Regions from separate parts of the Homo sapiens genome. Here regions 1 and 3 are each linked to region 2. The links are contacts of gene promoters, found by promoter capture Hi-C in blood cells and fetal thymus (Javierre and others, 2016). All regions are on one chromosome and are shown on one strand. The core of a region is centred on a gene start or on the middle of the fragment in contact, and the rest is flanking DNA. Distances in the headings are between cores, read along the strand shown. Region 1 overlaps LOC105369896 (a long non-coding RNA gene). Region 2 holds the start of MRPL42 (mitochondrial ribosomal protein L42). Region 3 holds the start of METAP2 (methionyl aminopeptidase 2).

Evidence for each region. The method cuts DNA at HindIII sites, captures the fragments that hold promoters and counts their contacts. A CHiCAGO score of 5 or more calls a contact.
Region 1: a contact is called between a fragment that was not itself captured here and the fragment with the promoter of MRPL42 in region 2, in 2 of 17 cell types (fetal thymus and total B cells). The highest score is 8.8, in fetal thymus.
Region 3: the fragment with the promoter of METAP2 here is called in contact with the fragment with the promoter of MRPL42 in region 2 in 3 of 17 cell types (total B cells, activated CD4 T cells and total CD8 T cells); the score reaches 7.1 in total B cells.

The regions. Positions count from the first base shown.
Region 1 is chr12:91,379,573-91,383,286 of GRCh38, forward strand. The region is part of intron 4 of LOC105369896 (a long non-coding RNA gene); the gene reads right to left. Among named protein-coding and RNA genes, the nearest start is that of LINC02823, 55 kb to the left of the region's middle. RefSeq lists enhancers at 1,320-2,153, 2,154-2,985. The HindIII fragment of the contact is 1,701 bases long and covers 1,009-2,709 here.
Region 2 is chr12:93,465,191-93,468,891 of GRCh38, forward strand. It overlaps MRPL42 (mitochondrial ribosomal protein L42), which reads left to right and starts at 2,324. Exons shown (of 6, transcript NM_014050.4): 1 at 2,324-2,364. RefSeq lists enhancers at 2,156-2,215, 2,276-2,545. The HindIII fragment of the contact is 2,939 bases long and covers 2,105-3,701 here.
Region 3 is chr12:95,472,842-95,476,287 of GRCh38, forward strand. It overlaps METAP2 (methionyl aminopeptidase 2), which reads left to right and starts at 1,311. Exons shown (of 11, transcript NM_006838.4): 1 at 1,311-1,489; 2 at 3,230-3,337. The coding sequence starts at 1,339. RefSeq lists an enhancer at 1,128-1,527. The HindIII fragment of the contact is 1,745 bases long and covers 364-2,108 here.

The DNA.
Region 1 (3,714 bases), core at 609-3,108, 2.1 Mb before region 2:
TCCTCTGGGGATGTAGCCAAGTACAAAATTGCACATTTCTCCTCCCACAAGTGTCTCAGCTCCCACAGAAAACAAAATCTACATCAAGCATGTTTAAGATGATCTACATGTGAAGTAGAAAGGTTAACACACAAGAGGAGTAACAGACTCATTTATTTATTTATTTTTACCTTCAAGGAGTTTAAATACAAACACAGAGAGAAAACTGAAAATAAGCATGATTCTAGAATTTGTATTATTGTTATATATATATTTTTTAAGTAGATAAGCATAAAACTAAGGAATTGCTCAGATGACCAAGTCTGGAGCAAAAACATCTGACACAGGAAAGTGAGAAAATAAAATGGGGGCCTTGAGTAGAAAAATTTCAATGGGTTAATTTCTGCTGGCGTTCAACATGTTATGCCATAGCAAACAAATAAGAATCATGCTGGGTCTCAATTTATCAGATTCCTTTAATTTACTAAGACTGCATATTAAACTAAATTGTTAGCAGCTGGTTGACTACCTCAACCTAACTCAACTCCTGGGAGCAATTACAGAGCTTCTCAAAATCTGTCCCTGTGTGCATCAAATTGATGTTGGAAAGAAAAAGATACCTCTTTCTAAAGTACTTTATTTCAGCCTTTCAAATTCACCTTCTGAAACCTAGGTGACATTCCTTCTAAACACTGTATACGGTATTGCTTAAGACAAGGAAAGTTTTCCCCCAAAACTATTTGTGCTCCCTTCACTCTGGTAGAATTTTTGGTAAGTTCTTTGGCCTATGCCCACCATATACTAGGCCGCCCTTGCTCACAGAAGGCCACAGCAAACCCCTTCTGCAAGCCCACGATGGAATCGTAAATCTTTACAACTTATTGAAGTCTTCCAGATTTTTAAATATGCCCATGATCCAGACTTTTTGCTTGCATGTTTAAATGGTTGCCTGATGGCTTGCAACAAGAAGTAGAAAGGCATTTTTCTTAAAATAAGCAAACAACCATGGCAAATGAGGTCATATTCCCAAGCTTGAATAATAAATATTGCTAAAATCTACAACCTGAAACATATTTTAAGAATTAGACATAGATTTGGGTTTTTTCTTTCTTTTTCAGGAAGGGGTCTCCCTTGCTGCCAATAAAAATTGCTTTGTGTTGTAAAATTTGGGTTCAGCTTGTCTCCTCCTTATATAAGCCCAGTTGAATAGACTGCTGAGGGAAAATCAAAGTTTAAGAGCCTGGCTTTTCCCGTTTGGCAACTTTCATTTCCTGATAATATCGGATAATTAACAAATTGTGTGTTTTAATGCCCTGTCTCTTGAAGCGCATTTGGGAAAAATACTTCTTGTGCCCTCTGAGTAATGGCTTAAATGGAAGAACATGCTCAAAAGAATGCTTTTTCTCAATGCATGAAACACACTCAGCATTTATTATTTTAATTGCTACACATCATGTGTATACTCGTTCGTGTAATTATATACATATTTAAAGGGCAAGAGGAAAAGATTATTTTAGGACTCTATAATTCATTATGAGCAAGGCATTGAAAATTTCTAACTCAAGATGAAAATTCATAAAAATTCTTTGGCAAAAACACCTTAGTATTCTCAATACGGTAACTGACTTTTTTTTTTTTGCGTTATGAAATAACTAGATACTACCGTGCGTTGCTTTTGGATAAAAGGGGAATGCTGTTTCTTAGCCTTTCTGTCTCTTTACTAAATGGATAATTCAGGACTGGGAAATGCAGCTCTAAGTTTGTTGTTTACGAAAAACACATGCTAATGTAACAGCGTATGAGGAATTAAAGAGAAAATGTCAAACGCGCCTTGACATCCAAAATGCATTTAGCTGTTGGCTTTTACTACAGGGCCTTTCACTCTCCAGCCGACCCCCTCCAAGACCAAGTGTTTTTGCGTGTTGGGCTAAAAATAGCCAGCCAAGCCTAACAACTAGCTTCTGATTGGCTCAGAGCAAAGGCCACTCAGCCAATAAGAGCTTCTGGGAACAAAAGCAATTCTTTTGTGTGAGATACTCAACCCACGTCAAAACAGCTTCAGGCTGTAGAAATGATTTTGGTTGAGCTTTAACAAGGTAATAATGCATTTCAGCCCTCTGAAAGGTTTGAAGCGGAACAAAGGGAGTAGTGAAATCTACAAAACAAATGGAGCGCTCAAGGCTTTCATGGGATGAATCATCCGGGTGCCTGAGCTACAAACAGTTGCAAGCTCAGAAAAGAAAAAGCGCTAGGATTTTCTTTCTTTCTTCCTGAGATTTTAACTTATTTTTCAAGCGAAAAACAAAACAAAACAAAAACAAAAAACTAACGAAAAGCCATCAAAGGCGTTGTATCTTGACTATGCCCAAATTTGTTATTATGCTTATTTGATGATGAATAAAAAGCAATTCTTCCACGGTTCCCTTAAATCTCACAAAGAGAAAACAAATGTATGTGTAGTAGATAGTAGGTAGTAAAGCTCCCGAAACTTTGGGCTTTCGTTTTTGGGCACCAAAAGCAGCCCATGTTTTCAGAGTAAAGGCAGGTCTTGATTAATGCTGTGATAGTTCTCAAGGTAAGCAAATTACAGCAGCACTTGATTGGAGAAAAGCATTGAAGTTTTGGAGGTTTTGGCCACTTTCAAGGCATTGTGCCTCTAGGGGTCGCTGTTGGACAGCGGACGAACCTCTTCAGGGCATCCTTCCCCCTTTAATAGTCACTAAAAGAAGAAGCTTAGTAGGCGCCTTTCAGGTAGAACAAAAGGGAGTGGGGAGTCAGTGTTTGAGACCCTTGAGCATGGTTTATGGTCATCACTATGGGACAAAGCATCCCATAACAATGCAGATTACTTTATATGGAAATGAAATGCCATAAAGGACAAAATGTTGCTACAGTAACCACTGAAAATGTTACATAACACATAGGAGCTCATAGGCCATTTCATGGCCTTAAACTGGCTTTATTGTATGGAAAATAATTAAAAGATGATGTGGTGCTTTATAGGCTTCCTTTTTAGGAAACAGAAGGACCCACACTTTAACCTCTCACATAGGAAACCTGTATAGGTTACCAAGTCCTGAAGTTGGCAGAGAAATACAGGTCACAAACAGACTGTTCCCATGTTCTCCTCCCAGAAAACTATGGATTCAATGTAACTTTTTCCCTTGAATATAGCTTTTATGATAAACAATTAGTAAATGAATCCTTAATTAAGCTTTATTCCTGGTGTGGCACAACAAGACCTAAGAAAATCAAACATCTCAGTAAAACTGAAACATATTTTTATTATCTGATTGGTTATAATCAAGAAGCAATATTTCTGTAACAGTTACCTGTCTAAGGAAATGCATAATCTGTCATAAAATATTGCATTCATCAATTATTGGCCCCAGCTGCATTTATGAGCCTATAATCTTTTGCCATAAAACATGGATGTTGGGGAGAGGGGCTGTAGAGAGGAGTATCATATTCATTAACCAATACTACAGAAACTAAAAGTGGTAGTAGACCCTTTTTTTTCTATTGCATTCAGTTTATAATAGTTTCCTTTGACAATAATAATTATAATAATAAAAGAAAAAGAAAAATCCACCTAGGAATTGTATTCCTAAACAACGAAATCTCCAGATGACTACGGATATGTAGTTTTCAACATGCAATATCTGGAAAGAATGTGGGTTCTGTTTCTTTGCAGTAATTCTGTGTGTTTTATAGTCTTTGCTTTATCATCCTGGC
Region 2 (3,701 bases), core at 1,074-3,573:
ACTAGGACTACAGGCACACAGCACCACCTACTCTATTTAATCTCTACATATGTCCTGTGTCCTAACTCCATGTTAACCCCTCCAAGGCTTATGAAGCCCAACATGACCTGGCTCCAAATCTCATCTCCTGCCGCTCTCATCCACACTATCCACCCTACTCCAGTATATGGTAAGCTATTTCCACCACATTAAACCTTTGTGTAAGTTGTTCCCTCACTCAGCCTAAACCTGTCTCTCCCCTCTCTTCCCCCAAAAATGTTGGTTTCTTTTCTGGTCTCAGCTTTGTGAGACCTTCCTTGGTCCCACTAAGTGAGTCTCCCTGTTGGGGACTGGTCCCACTCTGCTCACAGCCATCAAGACTTGACCTCTGGAATTATCTTTGATCCATTCTTCTTACACTTTACGCAGGGAATGTTCAACCAGTCCAGTTGACTGCTCATTCAAATCTGTTTCTCCTCTCTGTCCCTTCCTATTGCACAGTCCAGAAAGACATCATGGGTGGCTTTGGAGGATGGACACGACTGGAAAGGACACAGATGGGCCCTCTGTGGGCTTCTATAAGAGCAAAGATTAGCCTCCTGATATTCCGTGGGAAATGAGGAGACACACTACACAGCCCGTATTTAGTTTTCTTTACTATGTGATGTGTGTTCACTTACTTTCAATACTAGTCACTTCAGGAATATGGTTCTTAACTTGTTGAGGGGTTTATCAATTCCCTGGAATACATAATAAAAGCTATAGATTATTTCTTAGAAAAATATACAAAAGCAAAATTTTGCAAATCATGGGAGAAGGGAATTTCCAGGCGACCGCTTCTGCTTTACCAGCCAATCATCTACTGTCTTGGATACTTGCAGCGTTATCTAGTCTTTTCATTCATTCAGCAAACACTTCCTGGAGACCTATAATGAGACCAAGCACAGTCTGAGATGCTGGGTTTGCATACAGTGAAGAACAAGATAGACATATGTCTCTGTCTTCAAGGAGCTTACATTATCCAGCATAAGAGACATTAAACGAGGTTGGGTGTGGTGGCTCACGCCTGTAATCCAGCCCTTTGAGAGGCCGAGGTGGGCATATCACCTGAGGTAAGGAGTTCGAGATCAGCCGGGCAAACATGGCGAAACCCCATCTCTACTAAAAATACAGAAATTAGCTGGGCGTGGTGGTGGCCACCTGTAATCCCAGCTAATTAGGAAGCTGAGGCAGGAGAATCGCTTGAAGCTGAGAGGCGGAGGTTGCAGTGAGCTGAGATCATGCCACTGCACTCCGGCCTGGGCGATAGAGCAAGACTCCGTCTCAAAAAAAAAAAAAAAAAGAAAGAGACATTCAACGAGCAAACAAATAATCAATATAAAGTCAGGTAATGGTAAATATTCTGAAGGAAAATAAAGCGGGGCATGGAATAAGGGTGGGTGAGGCTATTTTAATGGTGTGGTCCTTTCTAAGATGATATTTGAGAAAGACCTGTAAGGTCATGAGAAGAGGTCAGAGAAGCACATTGCTGGCAATGGGAACAGAGAGTGCAAAGGCCCAGAGGTCTTTCCTTCCTCCTAAGATGGAAAGCGAGGTCCAAGATTCTGCATATTTACTTCCTCCCATAATAGGTAGCCAGCACAGTTCTGAGGGCACAGTGCCAGGTTTTCAGAGTGGAGGTTCTCTTCAGGTTCTGATTTCAAACGTCCAAATCCTAGCCTCCACATTTCAGGGCTTCTCTGGAATGTCTCTTCCCCTGGGAAACTTTAACTCATCTACTAAAGAGCAATCTACGATTTCTCTGAATATTAACATAATTTTTTTAAAAAGTACTTATAGGTTTGCATGGTGGCTCATGCCTGTAATTCCAGCACTTTGGGACGCCGAGGCAGGAGGATTGCTTGAGACAAGCCTGGGCAACATACCGAGACCTCGTCTCTACAAAAATATTAAAAAATTAGCTGGGTGTGGTGGTGTGCGCCTGTAGTACCAGCTACTCAGGAGGCTGAGGTGGGAGGCTCTCTTGGGCCCAGGAGGTAGAGGCTGCAGTGAGCCGTGAGGGAGCCATTGCACTCCAGTCTGGGTGACAGAATGAGACTGCCTCACAAAAAAAAAAAAAAAAAAAAGCTTGTTACTTTCTAAGGGTATGTGTTTGGGGCAGTGATTTTGTTTTTCTGGGCACCTTAGTAACACTGCGGCCACGCTTCCCCAACTAAAGGTAAAAGTCCATAGCAACAATCCTCCCTTTCTCTCTGCACCCGGGCCGCTTTCCCGCGGAGACTACATTTCCCAGAATGCCCCGCGGGCTGGGACGGCGCGCGCAGCGCTGTTTCGTGGGACCAGGATTGAAACAAGATGGCGGGTTCGTGGTGAGAAGCCGTCAAGGTAACCGCTTCCCTCTACTCCTCCTGTCGAGGACTTCCTCGAAACTGGGCAGTCCCACAGTGTTGGTCGGCAGTTGTAGAGGTCTCCCGCCTGTCGTTCCCGGCAGGGCGAGGTTGCCTGCATCCCCAGCCTTTGTCCTTCCTGCAGAAGAGCCGGCATGTGGCTGCGCGTTTCTTATAGCGCCCCCTTTGTTCCCTGGCGGACGCCCGTGGGGAGGTGATGCAGCTTGTGGCTCTAGGGACTCCTTTAGGTCGAAGAGTTCTGGTGCTCTTGGTAGCCTGTTCCTCAAACCTCTGACCCTCAGAGGCTCTGTAGCTTTTGTTTTGGGGTTGAATTCCGGGCTGAGGGACTTGATCTCTGAAATGATCTTCCTGGGGTGAATAATCTGACTCCCAGCAGGGCGTGCTTTTCTCTGGGCTTCGGACAGAGGGGACCTAATTTCCCCCAAGATGTTTTATTCGTGGTCAGAAGTCATGGGTTTACGTCCCACGCATGTATTAAGCAGCGATATACTGAGCAAGTAATCGATTGACCTCTCTGAGCCTTTGTTCTTAATCTGAAATGGAGATGCTGCTTCACACACTTGTGAAAGTCAGAGCACATATTGTATATGAAAGTGGGTTGTAAACTAAAAAGCACACCTATGAGCTCAGGGTTAACGGTGTTAATGTACTGGCAGTGCAAGGTATCAGTGTGAGTGGTTTAGACTAGCAAATAAGAGGGCCTGTGTCCTAATTCTCTTTTATCACTATTGGGGGGAAGGGCACGGATACTCATTGAAGACTATTAAAAACAAGATTTAACAATGGTTATTTGTCATTTATTCACAACAGGCCATGAAGATTGTGGTTTTCCCCATTTTGTCATTGGAGAAACTGAGGATCGTTTAGTTAATGACTTGTTTAAAGTTTCCCAATTTGGCAGTGACTGACTCTAAAGTCCTTGGAAGCAAGACGTTTAAATTTTGTACTTTAGTTTCTTCATGAATCAGAATAAAGATACCTCACATGATTAATACGAGAGCAAAATGAAATGGTGGTGAAAGTACGTTGGAAAGTTAAAGACTTTGTACACATATAAGATGGTGAAATTTTATCTGGGACTTGAGGGCATTTATGAGTTCCTCCAATTGAGTAATAGGCTAAGGATAGGCCTTGTTTGATATTTCTTTATTATTATTATTATTATTAATGGCTCAGGGCAGACAACTATTTCATTTAATCAGAAACAGGATAGTACTGTAAATGATGTAGTATCTTGTGTATGGAACCTTGGAGGGTGTACACAGCCACACTAGCATTAAAAGAATGAATACTCTGTGTACCATTTGTGAGTGA
Region 3 (3,446 bases), core at 61-2,560, 2.0 Mb after region 2:
GGAGACGGGGTTTCACCATATTGGCCAGGCTGGTCTCGAACTCCTGACCTTGTGATCTGCCCACCTCGCCCTCCCAAAGTGCTGGGATTACAGGCGTGAGCCACAGCGCCCGGCCGGTTTACCAACTTTTATATTGCCAGCAATCAACTAGGGAAAACAATTTAAAATCTAAATAGGGATAGATTTAAAGAGATAAAGATCTGTACAAGAATAAGAGGAACAGTTTTTATTACTATTGGATAGGTGCTGCCTGAAGCTTTAAGACAGAGAATGTACATTTATGCAGCTGCAGTCAGAGCCTGTGTGAGGTTTACTGTAAACTCACTGGCAATAAGGCTCTTAACGACATTTTGATGCCCATGAAGCTTGGTGCCTAGTTTAAAACTAATGAAAACACCTAAACTCTCCAGGTGGACAAAGCCATATTCAGGAGAAATTGAGAAGGAGTTGGTGCAGGCAGCCAATCACAATCCACTTACGCCACAAACTAAATCTCAAACTGCGGTTTGAACATGAGGCTCAAAACATAAGAAGTAAAGAAATGGGCAAAATTCAATTAGTTTCTGGTGAAACGTCCTAAATCCAAAAGAAAGGTGACCAGAAATAGAGAAAACGGAGTGTGATCTTTTGCATTAATGAGAGAGACCGTGTCCCCGTGTGTTAAAACCTGTCATTCTTGTCCTGAATTGGAAAGTGAGCGGAGTGTGACGGGTTCCCATCTTGAACCGTCCGGGGTTGAGTAGTACAATAAACTAACACGGAACTCCAGCTTCCAAAATTCTCTCCAGTGCCTACAGAGCCTCGCGGAGAGCTGTGATTGTGAATGTCAACGCAGATTTGATTAAATCTCTTAGATTTAAGAGATATGTGGAGTCATGACAATAGAAATGTGTACAAGTGAACACATTTCTTAGCCCGTTTCCCCACTGCCTGTGTGATTTATAAAAACGCAAATATAAAATATTTCCGTTCCAGCAGAGACGCCGCTTGCTACGGCGGGTTGCCCGTCTCCACAGGTATCTCCGGCTGACTCTAGAGCTCAACTTCCCCTTTAAACTTCACCCTGCGCTTGCCGATTTGCTTCGGGAATGCCCGAGGCACCGGACGAAGCAGTCGGGTCTGGCCCCAGTCGACTCCAGCCAGGCGGGGCTCCAAGCCGAGACTCCTGCACGCCCGGCCCGAAGCTAGCCCGACACCCTCAGCTGAGTCCTCCGCCGTCCCAGCATTCCCTGCGTCCCTACCATCGAGAGCAGCTTCCGGCGTGGCTGGTGTAGGCGGGTGGAGAAGGATCGGGGCCCTCGCCGCTCTGTCTCATTCCCTCGCGCTCTCTCGGGCAACATGGCGGGTGTGGAGGAGGTAGCGGCCTCCGGGAGCCACCTGAATGGCGACCTGGATCCAGACGACAGGGAAGAAGGAGCTGCCTCTACGGCTGAGGAAGCAGCCAAGAAAAAAAGACGAAAGAAGAAGAAGAGCAAAGGGCCTTCTGCAGGTAAAGAGAGTTTTATGTTTTCCCAGTCCCCTCCGGGAACGGCTGAACTGTTTGGCTCAGGCCCGTTGAGGGGGCCGGGACCGGGGCCCCAGAGCCCCGACTAGACTGATTCTTGGGCCTGACAGGGTGGCAAAGCCGGGCTATAGATTCCTAGTCTGAGAAGAGGCGTCATCTCCTCCTGTGGGACTAGAGGGCTGGTGGGGGAGAAAAGAGTGCCTGAGGTTGGCGTGTGGTACCTCTGGGGTCGCTGGGCCCGAGCCCCTGTATTACCAGAACTCAGCTCCCACGCACATCGTGGCACGGTCTTGAGATTGTGCGCAGAGCACAGCCCTACCATCTTTCGCGCGATTTGGCCGCCGCCTCAAAAATCCGATTCTGATCCGTATTGCCGCGTCTTTGCTGGTTTGCTGGAGCAAGCTAGGACTTATTTTCTTTGGGGGTGGGCAAATGTAATGGAGAGCACACCTCCTCCCACTATCCCGTTTCACGTTGGGGTTGTTGCAGCCTGCACTTTTGGGGTGTGTGTACATGTGTGTTTGCCCGCGCGCTCATGTCATTAATTGCAGAATTTGTGGTGGTGATAACGAATTTTCACCTGCCTAATCCCATAGCATCGCCAAGCTTTAGGGCCTTTAGACCTGAATTATGATACCAATTGCAGGCAGTGCAGATAGGATATTCTGTGGCTCAGAATGGAACTTCTGAGGTCTTAACCTCTAAATCCACTGGTAAGGCAAGGAGAACTGCTGAGAGTTTACAGTTGGATATTATGAACTAGGAACTTACATATTTTGAGAAGTCTGTGTTTTTGCTGCACAAGCTCCTTCACCTTAATAAAAATTATTTTTACTTGTTTCTAATTAAAATCGCCAGAGAAACAGAAAATGGAGAAGTCAGAAGCGATTAAGATGGAATTGAGAGAGGTCGAAGAGAGCTAATCTTCATCTTTCTGAAATTTTGATTAGATAGGAATGGAAGGAGAGTTGTAGCGTTGCTGGAACTCTTCCAGAGCAAAATTTGTTACTCTGGTGGCTGTTCCTGGATTTCGAGTGAAATTCAAACACTGCTGTTTGTCTTGTAAGGTGTTAAGCTGACTGATCCTAATGTATTTTTAACAGTTGTATTTCTTAATATGAATTCTCTCCAGTAGCCAGAATGTCACTTCATTTCGTGCTACCTGATACTATTAATGCATGTAACATATTGCTCTTATAGGTAGGTTATAATCACTTCCAGAGCAGGGGCCTGGTCTTGTGCTTAGATATTTGAGCGTTTTAGTTTTTTAGTAATGGACTGTCTTTGCCTATTTATTTTGACTTTACCCAGCCCATCGTGATATCCTTATTCATGAAACCAGGCTGCCCCGGGGTGTTGCACATGAATCTTTTTCCTAAGGCCTTCAGCATTTATTACCTATCTGGTGTTTAAGTATTTGTTAAGTCTAATTGCTGACCACTATTACAAGTTAAACTACTTGAGGATAGAGACCAGTTCACGCTGTTTATCTTTTAGCTGCTAGTGTGTGTAATGGATATTTTGTTGAGTAAATTAATGAATGGACAATACTGTGTAGGTATGGAAGATTTTTCTGTCATTAAACGAATTCTGTTATGTTCACAATAATGTTTCTGTTTTTGTTTCCTGAGGAAAGGATTTGTAAGTTTTCCAAGATCATTAGAGCATATTCTAGTGGGAAAGTGTCTGTATTAGATTTGATTTCTGCTATTTTATTTTGATCAGCAGGGGAACAGGAACCTGATAAAGAATCAGGAGCCTCAGTGGATGAAGTAGCAAGACAGTTGGAAAGATCAGCATTGGAAGATAAAGAAAGAGATGAAGATGATGAAGGTAAATGGTTAATTTGATCTTTGTGGTTAGAAAAGCTAGAAAATGTAGCCGGGTGTGGTGGCACACACCTGTAATCCCAGCACTTTGGGAGGTCGAGGCGGGTGGATTA